Linked DNA regions of Homo sapiens: all the other regions are linked to region 2. Evidence: promoter capture Hi-C in 16 types of primary human blood cells and fetal thymus (Javierre and others, 2016). All regions are on one chromosome and are shown on one strand. The core of a region is centred on a gene start or on the middle of the fragment in contact, and the rest is flanking DNA. Distances in the headings are between cores, read along the strand shown.

Region 1 (3,500 bases), core at 103-2,602, 380 kb after region 2:
ATTATATTATCTGATAAGGGGTAATATCGAGAATATATAAAGAACTCCTATAACTCAACAACAAAAAACCAAATAACCCAATTTAAAAAATGGTCAAAAGACTTGAATAGACATTTCTTCAAAGATAATATACAAATGGCTAACAAGCATATGGAAATATGTTCCACATTACTAGTCATTAGGGAAATGCAAATCAAAACCACAATGAGGTATCATCTCACGCCTATTAGGAGGACTACTATCAAAAAGCAGAAAATAACAAGTGTTGGCAAAGATGTGGAGAAACTGGAACACTCATGTATTGGTGGGAATGTAAAATGATGCAGCTGCATGGAAAACAGTATGGCAGTTCCATAAAACATTAAAAATAGAATTATTGGGCCAGCCTGACTAACATGGTAAAACCCCATCTCTACTAAAAATACAAAAATTAGCTGGGTGTGGTGGTGGGCACCTGTAATCCCAGCTACTCAGGAGGCTGAGGCAGGAGAATTGCTTGAACCCAGGAGGTGGAGGTTGCAATGAGGGAAGATCGCGCCATTGTACTTACTCCAGCCTGGGCAATGAGGGCGAAATTCCATCTCAAAAAAACAAAACAAAACAAAAAAGAACTACCGGCGGGGCACAGTGGCTCACACCTGTAACCTCAGCACTTTGAGAGGCCGAGGTGGGCGCATCACTTGAGGTCAGGAGTTTGAGACCAGCCTGGCCAACATGGTGAAACTCCGTCTCTACCACAAACATAAAAAATTAGCAGGGTGTGGTGGCAGGTGTCTGTAATCCCAGATACTTGGGAGGCTGAGGCAGGAGAATTGCTTGCACCTGGGAGGTGGAGGTTGCAGTGAGCCAAGATCATGCCACTGCACTCCAGCCTGTGTGACAGAGACTCTGTCTCAAAATAAATAAATAATAAAATAAAAATAGAATTACCAAATGACTCCAGAAATTCCATTTCTCGGTATATATCCAAAAGCAGTGAGAACAAGGACTCGAATATGTGCACATCTGTGTTCATAACAATATTGTTCACAATAGCCAAGAGTGGAAGCAACTCGAATACCCCTTGACAGATGAATGGATACACAAAATGTGGTATATACATATACTGGAATATTAGTCTTAAAAATGAGGCTGGGGGCAGTGGCTCATGCCTGTAATTCCTAGCATTTTGGGAGGCTGAGGCAGGCATGTCACTTCAGGTCAGGAGTTTGAAACTAGCCTGGCCAACACAGTGAAACCCCATCTTTACCAAAAGTACAAAAAAATTAGCCAGCTGTGGTGGTGGGTACCTGTAATCCCAGCTACTTGGGAGGCTGAGGCTGGAGAATTGCTTGAACCCAGGAAGCGGAGGTTGCAGTGAGCTGAGATCGCGCCACTGCATTCCAGCCTGGGCAACAAAGTGAGACTCCATCTCAAAAAAAAAAAAAAAAAAAAAAAAGATGAAAATTCTGACACATGCTACGACATGGATACACCTTGAAGATATTATGCTAAATGAAATAAGCCAGACAGACACTGTATGTTTCCACCTATATGTGGTACCTACAGTAGTGAAACTCATACAGACACAAGGTATAATGGTGGTTGCCAGGGGCTGGAGGAAGGGAAATAAGGAGTTGTTTAATGGGTAAAGAGTTTCAGTTTTTCAAGATGAAAAAGTTCCCAAGATTGTTGCACAACAGTGTGAATATACCTTAATGCTACTGAACTGTACACTTAAAATGGTTAAGATGGTAAATTTTATGTTACGTGTATTTTTACAATTTTTAAAAATGCAAAAGGAATGAGGTAATGATATATGTTATATGTTACAACATGGATGGACCTTGAAAACATTGTGCTAGGTAAAAGAAGCCAGTCAGAAAAGACCACATATTGTATGATTACATTTATATGAAATGGAGGGAAATCATAGATACATAAAGTAGATTAGTGGTTGCCAGGGGCTGGAGGGAGAGAATGGGAGGTAACTACTAATAGATATGGGTTTCTTTTTGGAGGGATGAAAACATTCTGGAATTAGTACTGATGGTTGTACTACCTTGTGAATATACCAGAAACCACTGAATTGTACGCTTTAAGAGGATGAATTTTATTATAGGTGAGTTATATTTCAATACAAAAACCCCAAGTGACTAATGGGAAAAAAATTCACAAGCACCCTGTCACAGAATGTCAAAAACAAGGTATCCTATCCTTAAATCATTGGCATGTAGACATAAGCAGAAAAATAAAAATAAACAGAATTGACCAGAAGGCACTGCAAAGCAGTCATGGAGGAAAAATTATGTTGGGAATCCCAGTGAGTAGAGAATCAGATTAGCTTCAAAACTGTGATATATTAGGCCAGGCATGGTGGCTCACGCCTGTAATCCCAGCACTTTGGGAGGCTGAGGCGGGTGGATTGCTTGAGGCCAGGAGTTTGAGACCAGCCTGGCCAACATGGTGAAACCCCATCTCCTAAAATTACAAAAATTAGCTGGGCGTGGCGGCACACACCTGTAATCCCAGCTAAGTCGGCAGGCTGAGGAACGAGAATTGCTTGAACCCAGGAGGCGGAGGTTGTAATGAGCCAAGATTGTGCCACTGTACTCCAGCCTGGGCGACAGAGTTAAGACTCTGTCTCAAAAAAAAAAAGAGAGAGAGAGAGAAGAAAAAGAAAAAAAACAAAAATAAAAACCAAAAAACAAAACTGTGATATATTTGAGAAGGAATAGATAAACCAGACTGAAACAGAGGGAAATTGTGGAAGACAGGCTGAAGAAACAGAAGTGAGGCCAGAATATGGAGGACCCTGACTACCAGGCTAAGGAGTTTGGACTTTTTCCCCCAACTGTTAATTTAAATCATTATTTTCAAAAAGATTAATTTCATGGCAATATAATAGACTGAATTATACAAGAATGAAAAAAATGGAAAATCCTGTAAGTTTAGAGACAGTGGTTGTCTAGGCATTAAGTGATGAGGACATAAAGTGTGACTGTTTAAGGCTAGGTGAACAAGATATTAAAAAAAAACAATAAAATCCAGCCTGGGCAACATAAGCAGACCTTGTCTCTAAGATTTAAAAACAAAACAAAACAAACAAACAAACAAAAAACACAATGAGGAAAGGATAGTCTCTTTAATAAGTGGTGTTGAGCTGGGTATGGTGGCTCGCACCTGTAATCCCAGCACTTTGGGAGGCTGAGGTGGGGGGGGGGAAATCACTTGAGCCCAGGAGTTCAAGACCAGCCTGGGCAACGTAGTGAGACCCCATCTCTATAAAAAATTTAAAGAAAATTAGCCAGGCATGGTGACATACATCTGTAGTCCCAGCTACTCAGGAGGCTGAGGTGGGAGGATTGCTTGAGTCCAGGAATTCCAGGCTGCAGTGAGCTCTGATTGCGCCACAGCACTCCAGCCTGGGTGGAGACCCTATCTCAAAAGATAAACAATAAATTGACAAGATTCATAACTTACATGTAAGAGATTTTTAAAAAAGGAAAAAATTAAACACA
Region 2 (3,118 bases), core at 619-3,118:
AAAGGGATACACAAGTGATGGCGAGGTGTATCGAGGAATAATTAACAGTTGAATAAAAATGCATTAATCAGAATGTCAAGAGTTCAAACTAGAAAGATTTTGAATTTTAAATGCATTATAAATAAAATCCACCTCTCTCCAAATAAAGCCCTCTGTAGAATTTTGCTTTAGCTCTTGTTTCTCTCACCAGAATAGAGAAGCGAGTATCACCTTTGGAGGATATACTCTACCATTCTCTGAAACTGTTTTTTTGCATTCAGCTACCTCGCTATTATAATCAGCTGAGAAACACCATAGCCTTTCACTAACACAGGTCAAAGATTTCTCCCAGGATCAACAAAGCTAGATTCAAAATTGCTCCTTTGAACACATGCAATTTGTGTGCATCAGTTTCGATCGCTGGGGTTCTTGAGGAGACTAACAAATTGCAAAGTGTACTTTCAGAGGAAGGGCCTAACCATCCTGGGGGGTCCTAGAATTGGGTCCTTTCACAGGCAGATCTGGAGAAGATAGGAGAGGGCAGGAAAGGAAAGTGAAGGATATGAACACTATGTGTTCAGTGTGCAAAGGCCTGCTGGCATTTTGCCTATGGGAATTCTGAAGTCTGGGCACATAAGGTTCAGCTGCAGTTGCAGTTTTCAACAGTCGTCCTTATTTTTATAAACATTGTTATGATTATTCAGACACGGAACTTGTGATTACACTATTTGCTCCTGTTCTGAACTTGAGGGAGTCCACTTAAGCTAACAAGTAGGTTTTTGAGGACATGTGTGGCAAATGCTTACCCAGTGAAGGGATTAAGGGGCTCAGTAAGCACTTGTCCATTGGCACAATGGCTGCCAATCTAATTCTATTGATTCCTCTAAATGTTTCTGGAGTTCAGAAATCTATTCAATCCAAGGGCACTTTACCTGGGGTCCTGGGAGCCAAATGTTAACGTAGTTCTTAACCTTCCTAAGCCTCTTAACCTTCTGGGTACAACCTCTATATTTGTCTTCTGGCTAAAATCATTTCCCCACCCCCAGCCCAGTCCTTTGGACTCTCCCAGGCCAATTCCTGGCAAGATCTTTGTCGAACTGTATTTGCAAACCAGGGTCTGGGGCACGGTGGCAGTTCCTTCGTCTGCTGTTCCCTTAATTTCGTCTGGTTTCACTGGCTCCAGGACAGCACACGGTCTAGAGTGGGAAGAGTGAGGCATTCACCTTGGTGAAAAACAACTCAGTAATTAAGACAAATGATTTTTCATGTACTATTTTAAAAAAATCAGAAGCAATGCAAAAATCCATGATGAACAAATGATCAACATTTGAAATACAGACAGGATCCCAACCTGCACTTGCATGACCTTGTCTCGCTTGCCTCACCCTAAACCCAGCCTTGACACTCCAATTAAACTTTATTTACAAAACAAGGGGGCCGGCCAGTAGGATGTAGTTTGCCCATACGACTTTTTTAAAGTATCGCATTGACTACTGTTTATCTCGATGACTGAAGGGTTCTTTTGGCATCCCTGTAGCAAATGCGTCTCACCCTAGTCCTGGTCCTGCTCCAAGGGTTTTTGTCCAGGCACATCGTGACCTCACCCTTCCTCCCCTCTCCGAGGCCTCTCTCAGGGTCCAGCGTTCAAGTCCCGGGTGTTCTCTGGACCCGCCCCTTCCTCTCGCCGGGTCAGGTGCCGAGGGCGAGCACGGGCGGCGCGGAGAGCAGTCCCGGCCCGCCCTCCACGACTCCTCCTCCTGCGAGCTGGGCCACTCAGCGGCTCTGCCGCCCAGCGCGCCGGGGCCCAGACCCCGCCCCGGCCCCGCCTCCGACGCCTGCCGCTCCAGCTCCGGCTCCCCCTATATAAATCGGCCATTTGCTTCGCTCCGCCCCGCAGCGCCGGAGTCAAAGCCGGTTCCCGGCCCAGTCCCGTCCTGCAGCAGTCTGCCTCCTCTTTCAACATGACAGATGCCGCTGTGTCCTTCGCCAAGGACTTCCTGGCAGGTGGAGTGGCCGCAGCCATCTCCAAGACGGCGGTAGCGCCCATCGAGCGGGTCAAGCTGCTGCTGCAGGTACGTCCTGGGATCCAGGAGCCCAACCAGGAAGTGGGGGGAAGGGTCGCACAGAAGGCGGGCGCCCGAGGGGTGGCGGGGAGCGAACTCTAAAGACATGGCCAGGGAAGCGGCTTAGGAGAGGCCAGAGCGGGGCGCAGAGGCAGAACAGAAGTCAAACTGGTGGGAGGCGCCTTTAGTGACCTGAAGTAGTGAGTCTAGGAAGGGGCCGGGGGCAGAGGGCAGGACCAGGCTCTCGGCATCTCCGAGGCGGCGGACTCGGATGGAGCAGTTTCTGAGTGACGGCCTCCCCGGGCCTGGGCGTCAAGGGCGAAGGCCGAAAGCCGGCGTTAGAAAGAGGAACGCCAGTTCTTACCGAAGACCTCAAGGTCGCGGCAAGGAGATAACTGCCCGGGGGAGGCCATGCGCCCGGGTCCAGCGGCCTCCCAGCCCGCGGACGCGCTCAAACCTCGCCGGGCCGGAAGCCGGCGCCGGGAAGCGCGTGTGCCTTTTACGTCCGCCCCCGCGCAGCCGCGGCCGCTGCCGCCGCGTCTCCGCCTGCCTCCCTGCGCCGCGCGCTCTCCAGTGCCGGCTCTAGAGGGCGCTCCTGGGCTAGCGTGTAGGGCTGGCGGCGGCGGCGCTCGGGTCACCTCTGGGAGCGGAGTGGGGGCGGAGCGAGACGGAAGCAGCTCAGGAGACTTGAGGCGTAGGCTGCGGTCCCCAAGGTGACCGCGCCCTATGTGGGACTCGCCCTAATGCCTCTGAACCTGGGTTTGAGGTAATGACCTTTCTCCTAGGTCTGAAGGTCACGGGTCCGCTGGAGGATGCCCCCTCTCCACTCAGAGGGGTGGAGGCTTAATGCTACTGGTGCAGATCACCTCTTCCCCTGTGACAGCCTCAGAGGGTTGGGAGGGTCCAGCCAGTATGATATACGAAGACTAGATTTGAGAGAGGGGAGCCTACCTTAAAGGGCATTGATCGAGATGGCATAAGCTCTTCTCTTTCCCTTCCCCATGGTTATAACTGTCCCTGTTGGCTTCCTTCCTGTCTGTTAGGTGCAGCATGCCAGCAAGCAGATCACTGCAGAT
Region 3 (3,389 bases), core at 538-3,037, 290 kb after region 2:
CACCCAACCATGGCCGTGATGTTGTGCCCCCCGGGGCAGGCTCTGGGCCTCCTTCTCAGAACAAATGGCCAGAGCTGTGCACAGAAGAAGCTACTTCCACTTGGATCTGAGGAGAAACATACAGTTCACCTCTGTCCTGAGCTCTTTGATGGTCTGGCCTCAGGCACCAGCCTCATCCTAGAAGAGTTGTCATATAGGGGCCTTGGGTTGGGGGTAAAAGGCAAAAGTTTCCAAATTTACATTTCTGATATTTCCACGGTCAGTCATGTAATTTACCTTGATTTGTGGCCTCTAATGAGACACACCCACGGGCACTTTTTTTTTTCCAAGATGGGGCTTTCCTCAGTAGCATTTATTTATTTATTTTTGAAATGGAGTCTCACTCTGTCACCCAGACTGGAGTGCAGTGGCGCAATCTTGACTCATCGCAACCTCTGCCTCCCGGGTTCAAGCAATTCTCCTGCCTCAGCCTCCCAAATAGCTACAGGCACCCGCCACCACGCCCGGCTGATTTTTTTTTTTTTTTTTTTTTTTTGGTATTTTTAGTAGAGACGGGGTTTCACTATGTTGGCTGGGCTGGTCTCGAACTCCTGACCTAGTGATCCGCCTGCCTCAGCCTCCCAAAGTGCTGGGATTACAGGCATGAGCCACCACGCCCAGCCAGCAGCATTTATTTATTATTACTGTTTTTTGAGACAGAGTCTCACTCTGTCGCCCAGGCTGGAGTGCAATGGCGTGATCTAGGCTCACTGCAACCTCTGCCTCCTGGGTTCAAGCGATTCTCCTACCTCAGCCTCCCAAGTAGCTGGGATTACAGACGTGCACCACCACGCCTGGCTAATTTTTGTATTTGTAGTAATGATGGGGTTTCGCCATGTTGGTCAGGCTGGTCTCGAACTCCTAACCTCAAGTGTTCCCCTGCCTCAGCCTCCCAAAGTGCTGGGATTACAGACACGAGCCACCACACCTGCTCAGCAGCATTTAAAAAATTAAGTTTAAGGCTGGGTGTGGTGGCTCACAGCTGTAATCCCAGCACTTTGGGAGGTTGAGGCAGGAGGATCCCTTGGGCCCAGGAGTTCTAGACCAGCCTGGGCAATATAGGGAGACCCTGTCTCTACAAAAATATACAAAAATTAGCCAGTTGTAGTGGTGCAGGCCTGTAGTCCCAGCTACTAGAGAAGCTGAGGTGGGAGGATTGCTTGAGCCTGGGAGGTGGAGGCTGCAGTGAGTAAAGCATTCCACTGCACTCCAGCCTGGGTGACAGAGTGGGACCCTATCTCAATAAATATATATATTTCACTTACGTAAAATTCTTTTTAAAAAGTTAAGTTTAATGCATAAATTGTAGCTTGCAAAATTGCTCCCATTCAGAAATGGCATGAATTAAATAGACTACAGGAGGGTTGACTGAGCCTGAAAGGCCAGGAAAGCAGTTGCTGGCTACAGACCCATGCTGCCTTGGAGAACAGTGCATTTTAAAAATAGCACTGTATCCCTGAAGGCTTGGGTAGCCCTTGCAATGGACTGTCGCGTTCCCCAGCCCTCTCATCCCAGTCCGTGAACACCAGCCAGAAACAGTCACCACTAACAAACAGCCCAGAAACGCCACCCTGAGCCCATCCATCCAGGTTTCCATCTCTGCCTGGTGGGCCTGTTTGCTTCTGTGCTCAAAACTTTCCTACTTTCCTTTATTTTTTATTTTTGAGATGGCGTCTCACTCTTACCCAGTCTGGAGTACCGTGGCAACGATCATAGCTCATTGCAGCCTCAAACACCTGGGCTCTGGTGAACCTCCTGCCTCAGCCTCCCAAGTAGCTGGGACTACAGGCACATGTTGCCATGCTCAGCTATTTTTTTTGTGTGTGTGTCTGTACAGACAGGGTCTCGCTATGTTGCTTAAGCTGGTCTCGAACTCCTGGGTTCAAGTCATCCTCCCACCTCAGCCTCCCAAAGTGCTGGAATTACAGATATAAGACTCTGTGCCTGGCCCACACTGCCTTCCTTTAGTAACCCATGAGGGTCTTCTCAATCATGAAATGATCCAAACCCCCTTGCTGTTTTCAGCCTGTCCCATGTCTCCAGGAGCTACACCTTAAACACACTTACACAGTGTAATAGAGCATTTCCTTTGTCTTTTCTTTCTTTCTTTCTTTCTTTCTTTTTTTTTAGATGGAGTCTTGCTCTGTTGCCCAGGCTGGAGTGCAATGGTGTGATCTCAGCTCACTGCAACCTCCGCTTCCAGGGTTCAAGTGATTCTCCCTGCCTCAGCCTCCTGAGTAGCTGGGATTACAGGCACCCACCACCACGCCCAGCTAATTTTTGTATTTTTGGTAGAGATGGGGTTTCACCATGTTGGCCAGGCTGGTCTCGAACTCCTGACCTCAGGTGATCCGCCCACCTTGGCCTCCTAAAGTGCTGGGATTACAGGCATGAGCCACCGTGCCTGGCCTTCCTTTGTCTTTTCTAAATGAACTTCTTTTCTTTAGTAATTGAAGGAGGGAGGGCTAACAGTTCCTAGATTCTGGCAGTTGGCATTGGCATCTGGCATTAACTCTCTCCACCCCGTGCCCATTTTATAGATGCGAACAGGCCAACTGATGCAGGACTGTGGTTTCTGTTCCACAACCTCCCCCTTGATAGCTGCCAAGGTGGGTTGGGCTTGGTGAAGGCTGTCAGGGCAGGGCCTTCTTGCCACTTGGCTGAGTCTGCAGGCTCCTGGCTTGCAGGGAAGATTGGTGTGTGCTGAGCATTCAAAGGACACTTATAACAGTAGTCCCCTCTTTATAGGAAAAGTTTGAACCTAAGCATCTTAACTGTTAGCAGATCTGGGGGCCTGAGACAAGCGTTCACCCTACTCTTTCCAAAACGAAAACCAAATTACCTGGAAGATTTGAAAACGGTTTTCTGTAGTTTTCCTGTAGTCAGCTACTCTTCCCCACAGATTTTTCTCATCATGTGATACTGCCTAGCCTATCTCCTCCATGTAAAATTGAGGTTTGGCTGCAGGGGACAAACTCCCATGCTGAAAACTCTCCGTGCCTCACATCAAGCCGTTGGCATTTCTGGTATGCTTTTTGAGGCAAGACTGGTATGCTTACCCCAAGAGAAAGAGCAAATTCCCCGAGAAACCTCTTTCCAGGGGAGCAAAGTGGAGTTAAGCAGATGATGCAAGACTTCATTCTAGCAGGGGAGCCGAGCAAGAAGAGGAGACAGAAGCAGGGCTGTGATGGATCAGGGGGAGGGGGTGCTGAGGGAGCGCAGGAGGCAGGGCCGGATCCAGGTCAAGAGGAATAGAAAAGGCTTTTGGGGAGGAAGGTGGTGCCTGATCTGAGGCTCGAGGGGTGAGTGGGAGTTGACCGTTGAGTGTGGCAAGTACCATGCACTATAAA

Evidence for each region. Contacts are between HindIII fragments. The CHiCAGO score rates a contact against its expected background, and 5 or more counts as called.
Region 1: a contact is called between a fragment that was not itself captured here and the fragment with the promoter of SLC25A5 in region 2, in 1 of 17 cell types (neutrophils). The highest score is 5.6, in neutrophils.
Region 3: a contact is called between a fragment that was not itself captured here and the fragment with the promoter of SLC25A5 in region 2, in 1 of 17 cell types (fetal thymus). The highest score is 5.4, in fetal thymus.

The regions. Positions count from the first base shown.
Region 1 is chrX:119,846,868-119,850,367 of GRCh38, forward strand. All of the region lies in intron 3 of UPF3B (UPF3B regulator of nonsense mediated mRNA decay), which reads right to left. Among named protein-coding and RNA genes, the nearest start is that of UPF3B, 4.3 kb to the right of the region's middle. The HindIII fragment of the contact is 6,337 bases long and covers 1-3,500 here.
Region 2 is chrX:119,466,576-119,469,693 of GRCh38, forward strand. It overlaps SLC25A5 (solute carrier family 25 member 5), which reads left to right and starts at 1,869. Exons shown (of 4, transcript NM_001152.5): 1 at 1,869-2,051; 2 at 3,086-3,118. The coding sequence starts at 1,941. It overlaps SLC25A5-AS1 (SLC25A5 antisense RNA 1), which reads right to left and starts at 2,545. Exons shown (of 1, transcript NR_028443.1): 1 at 1-2,545. RefSeq lists silencers at 1,549-1,928, 2,419-2,658. The HindIII fragment of the contact is 10,795 bases long and covers 1-3,118 here.
Region 3 is chrX:119,760,285-119,763,673 of GRCh38, forward strand. No RefSeq gene overlaps it. Among named protein-coding and RNA genes, the nearest start is that of SOWAHD, 3.4 kb to the left of the region's middle. RefSeq lists enhancers at 165-234, 245-314. The HindIII fragment of the contact is 4,283 bases long and covers 1-3,389 here.